Linked DNA regions of Homo sapiens: region 1 is linked to region 2. Evidence: promoter capture Hi-C in human tissues and cell types (Jung and others, 2019). All regions are on one chromosome and are shown on one strand. Each heading gives the region's core, a stretch centred on a gene start or on the middle of the fragment in contact. The rest is flanking DNA. Distances are from core to core; before and after follow the strand shown.

The links. Contacts are between HindIII fragments. The study calls those that stand out against the background at their distance.
Region 1: a fragment that was not itself captured here is called in contact with the fragment with the promoter of GDPD1 in region 2 in 1 of the 25 tissues and cell types used here (bladder).

What each region holds. Positions count from the first base shown.
Region 1 is chr17:59,520,159-59,522,858 of GRCh38, forward strand. All of the region lies in intron 1 of LINC01476 (long intergenic non-protein coding RNA 1476), which reads right to left. Among named protein-coding and RNA genes, the nearest start is that of LINC01476, 5.3 kb to the right of the region's middle. The HindIII fragment of the contact is 4,297 bases long and covers 1-2,700 here.
Region 2 is chr17:59,219,194-59,221,893 of GRCh38, forward strand. It overlaps GDPD1 (glycerophosphodiester phosphodiesterase domain containing 1), which reads left to right and starts at 1,318. Exons shown (of 10, transcript NM_182569.4): 1 at 1,318-1,558. The coding sequence starts at 1,417. RefSeq lists an enhancer at 1,344-1,894. The HindIII fragment of the contact is 11,394 bases long and covers 1-2,700 here.

The DNA of each region.
Region 1 (2,700 bases), core at 2-2,501, 300 kb after region 2:
ATTACAGGCGTGAGCCACCGTGCCTGGCTGAGAAGTTTTTTAAAAAGCCTGCACTCAGACCCTGACCCCTTGTTCCCCCTTTGTTCTCCCCAACTCAATTGGTTTGGCTTAGGGCTCAGAATCAGGGTTTTTTTGTTTTTGTTTTTTTAATTGTGGCAAAATATACAAAACATACAATTTACTATATTAATCATTTGTAAGTATACACTTCAGCGTTATTAAGTGCACTTACATTGTTGTGCAACCGTCACCACCACCCATCTCCAGAACTTCCTTCATTTTCCCAAATAGAAACTCCATACCCATTAATCAGTAACTCCCTATTCTCCCCTCCCCATCCCTTGACAGCCACCATTCTACTTCCTGTCTCTATGAATTCGACCGTGCTAGGTAGCGCATATAAATGGAATCATACACTATTTGTCCTTTTGCTTATGCTTATTTCACTTAGCATAATGTCTTCAAGACTCATCCATGTTGTAGTAAGTACCAGAATTTTCTTCCTCTGAAAAGGCAGAATAATATTCCATTGAATAGATAGATATACCACATTTTATTTATCCATTCATCTGTCGATGGACATTTTGATTATTTCCACTTTTTGGCTACAGTGAATAATGCCTCCATGAACATAGATGTCGGTTTGAATCCCTGCTCCCAATTTTTTTGGCCATATACCTAGAAGTGAAATTGCTGGATCATATGATAATCCTGTGTTTAATTTTTTGAGGAACTGACATAGTTTTCCACAGCAGCTTCACATTTTTACATTCCCATCAGCAATGCACAATGATTCCAATTTCTCAGCATCCTCTCCAACTTAAGTGAAATTTTAATCTTTATTTATGTAACCCTTGATAGTAAAAACTTTTCTAACCCTCTTATCTTTAATTATGCTGTATTTCTAAGTTGCATGGTCCTTTTATAGAGAGACAAGGTCTTGCTCGGTCATCCAGGCTGAAGTCCCGTGGTATGATCATAGCTCACTACAGCCTTGAACTCCTGGGTTTAAGAGATCCTTCTGCCTCAGCCTACCAAGTAGCTAGGACTACAGATATGCACCACCATGTCCATCTAATTTTTAAAAAAGAATTTCCTTAGAGGTGGGGTTTTGCTTTGTTGCCCAGGCTGGTCTGAAACTCCCAGCCTCAAGCGATCCTCCCACCTTGGACTCCAGAAGTGCTGGGATTACAGGCATGGGCCTCCGTGCCTGGCCACAAATATTTAAGTTCTTATTCTTCTATCTTCAACAGATACCTTCTTTGATTATAAAAGCAACACAATATATAATTATCAAAAACCTACAAGTCACATAATCTCCATTTTTCCAGGCTTCACCAAGTTGAGAGTACTCATGGGGCCATATTAACAGTAATACCCAAAAGTTGCTGGCTTTTACTCCCAGGCGAATCTTCTTTCCTTCTGCTCTGCCTTGCCACGTTCGGGGAAGTTCCCAGAAAATCTAAGCATGATTTGGGGGAAGAGTCACTGATGTAATTTCCTAGACAGCCACTGGAGGGCAGCAGCTCCCTCTCACCCCCGACCCCAGCCCTGAAGAGGATGCTGCCATCAGGCCCAGAGCATTCCTGAAGCAGCAAACTCTCAGTCATTGCATGGAAACTCTACAGAAACAGGGGGACTATCCCTCTTCCCAACTCTTGGTCACACGTTGTGACCTGGGTTTCGTAAAGTCCTATGTGGAAACAAGCACATGTCAGAGTCCAAGCTTAATAGCGGGTTGAGAATGTGATACACAACAGGATGACCCTGACAGCCTGCAGCTGGCGGCTATCTAGCGTTCCCTCACGCAAGATAAGCAGTTTTCACAGAATAACAACAATAATCAGACAAGGTCCCTCCGTAACCATGGTGGAACAAGACAATAACAAGATTGCAACTTACTCAATCTGAACATGAACACAGACAAAGACATTAAACAATCACGAAAATAACCAAATAGCCACCCTGATGTAGTCACACGAGTGACTCTAGCCTCCCAGGTAAAAATTAAGACACCCAATCATCAGGCCGGGTGCATTGGCTCATGCCTGTAATCCCAGCACTTTGGGAGGCTGAGGCAGGTGGATCACGAGGTCAAGAGATCGAGACCATCCTGGCCAACATGGTGAAACCCTTTCTCTACTAAAAATACAAACTAGCCGGGCGTGGTGGTGTGCACCTGTAGTCCCAGCTACTTGGGAGGTTGAGGCAGGAGAATCACTTGAACCTGGGAGGCAGAGGTTGCAGTGAGCCGAGATCACGCCACTTCACTCCAGCCTGGGCAACAGAGGAAGACTCCATCTCAAAAAAAAAAAAATTGCACTTTGGGGTTTGCAGCAACCTCTTGTTAGTATTTATCCTATCTAGTGGAGAATTTCTCTTTATTTTAACTACTGCCTGAAAGACACTGCTGTGATACATTAATTTTTAATGTAAGTAGGTGCATAGCTATAATGAAAACATCATAATAAATCTTCATACGTGCTGAGAAGATAATCTTGAAATCTATATTATATAAATATCGTCACTTCAATTTATTGTGTACAATTAATGAAGTTTAAAAATATAAGTTCTGAATAAAATTTACAGTATTCTGCTTTTCCTTTAAGAAGAAGGCTGAATTTATCGTGGACTTTTTTGGTATAGCTATTGTAGATAGGAGTTATTGTCAACTTTATGAGTCAGCTAAGTGAGAAACAT
Region 2 (2,700 bases), core at 68-2,567:
TGCCTCGGCCTCCTGAGTAGCTGGGATCACAGGCACACGCCACCACCCCTGGCAAATTTTTGTATTTTTAGTAGAGATGGAATTTCGCCATGTTGGCCAGGCTCCTGACTTCAAATGATCTGCCCGCCTCAGCCTCCCAAAGTGCTGGGATTACAGGCTTGAGCCACCGTGCCCAGCCACCCCCTATTTTCTTCTAATTTTCTTTTTATAGTTGAGATAGGGTCTTGCTCTGTCGCCCAGGCTGGGGTGCAGTGGTGCAGTCATAGCTCACTGCAGCCTCGATTTTCCAGGCTCAAGCAATACTCCCACTTCAGCCTCCCAAGTAGCGTGACTACAGGTGCACGCCACCACGCCGGGCTTATTTTGTTTTATTTTTTGTAGAGATGGGGTTTCGCCATGTTGCCCAGGCTGGTCTCGAACTCCCGGGCTCAAGCGATCCACCCTTCCTTCCCGGCCTCCCTAAGTGCTGGGATTACAGGCGTGGGCCACCGCGCCCGGCTGAATCAGGATTTTAAATATTCACTCTGCTTTTCTAGTCCTGTGGGAGATATGGTCTTCTCCGTAAAATTTCTCCCTCAGTCCTGGGTGATTTATTTCTTTTGCATTGAAGTGTGTGGCTTTTCGTGTGTTAGCAGTTTGTAATTTGTCGGGTAAAAGGAAAACTAGTAGGGCCTTCTGGAACTTAGTTATCTGTCTTTCTAGGACTTTTAGGTAATACCTTATAACCTTAACAAAGTTTCCTTATTTTATACGGACTTGTAAGTCAACAAATACTTCTACAGTGCCTATTGTGTACAAAGAATGAGGATTGCACTTTCACAATGAAATGAGGGAGGACAGGGGCCGATCTCTCAGATATTTGACTGATAAACCAGTACCTTTTCTAGTATATGCGACCATAGGGGAAATTCTCTCTAGGCTAGATAAACGGAGGAGTTTATTTAGTGTTTTAGCAAGCTTTATCGCCTCCATAGGTACAAATTATTTGCATTTTCTAGAGCAAGGGATAAGACGCGCCCTGGAATCTTTCCTTTTTGATGTGGATTTTCCAATTAGGAAAGGCTGCCCGTGAATAGTCTTTTCTGCTTGAGTGATGGCCAACACACTGGCAGGTTTGCAAGCTTTCTCTTCATGAGGGTCCGTCCACAGAGCTAGGTGACAAACGCTCAGTCCAGGATCTCTGCAGGTTCCTACACGGGAGCCGGAGAGCGCCTGCGCGTCGGAGCCTCTTTGTTGCTGGGGCGCTGGGGTCCAGCTGCGCGTGCGCAGTAGGCCGGCACCGACAAGTGCGCTGCACCAGTGGCACCGGCTGGGGGCGAGCCGACCTCGAGCAGCCGCCGCCGCCGCCGTCGTTGCTACTGCCGCAGCGGAGTTCAGAGGGCCCGGAGGTGGGAGACTTCCCACACGGTGACTGAGATGTCGTCCACTGCGGCTTTTTACCTTCTCTCTACGCTAGGAGGATACTTGGTGACCTCATTCTTGTTGCTTAAATACCCGACCTTGCTGCACCAGAGAAAGAAGCAGCGATTCCTCAGTAAACACATCTCTCACCGCGGAGGTGAGAGGGGTCCCCAGAACCCGATGACGGAGGTGGGGGAGGCTGAGGGTCCTTTGCGGCTCCGCAAAAGGCAGCCGGGTGCCAATCCCTGAGAGTTTGAGGAAGAATGGGGTTGTGTGAATTGAGGGCTCTTCCGGAGGTGAAGGCTGTGTGAAGGGAAGGTCTCCTGAGGGGAGGGAAGGAGAGGGATTCCCGGTCAGAGCCACGGCGGGGGTCTCTCGAGGGCAGCAGTGTGAGGGGTTCTCTGAAACGGGAAAGACACGGTCGAGAATGAAGGGTAGGTGGAGCGTTTCTCGGCGGATGGAAGGATGATCGCAAGGTCCCTTCCTAGCAGCAAGACACAAAGGGGGAGCGCCGTGCAGAACCGAGGGTACCCCGCGGGGGGCACCGGGAGCACACTGCTCCGAGCGAGCTAGTGGCTGAGTGGATGGGAAGAGCCGAGGCGACGAGGAGGGCTGGGGATTTGCATGAAGCTGGACGAGCTGTAACCCCTTGTCTGCGGTGCTGGGGGCCCGTCCCACCCCCACGTTCCGAGCACTCATAATTGAGAAGAGAGGGAAACCGAGTCCCCCGAGCCAGGGACATTTCCCAAGGTCACAATTAGAGCTAGGGCTGAACTGAGACAGGAGCTACAGCGTCCTGGTCCTCAGGGCTGGAAACCTTGCATCTTTTTTTTTTTTTTTTTGAACACTGCAATAAATAAATAAATAAATAAATAAATAAATAAACACGCAAAGACACGTGGATTTTCAACAGACTAAAAATGATTTCGTTTAGGACAGGACAGTATTGTTTAAAGAAAACAAAAATAAGTTTCTTTTGGAAAAGTGTTTTGCTAAAAGGAGCCCAGGTAGTCCACCCTCTAATTTCCCAGATAACAGGCCAAATCTTTGCTTCTTCATTATTGTGTAATAATGTGTCTTCATTGCATTTCAACTATGATGTATAAAGTGCGGTGAAATTGGATTATTTTCAATCAATTTTAACTGTTCTTTAAGGCTGAATCTTAAACCGGTTTAAAATTTGCTTGAAATTTAATACACACTTGAAATGATAATTTCTAGGAGTTTACAGTCTAAAACTTGGTGTAGTACCATAATCACTTTACTAACAAGTATTGGCCAAGGAAAAAGGTTTTGAAA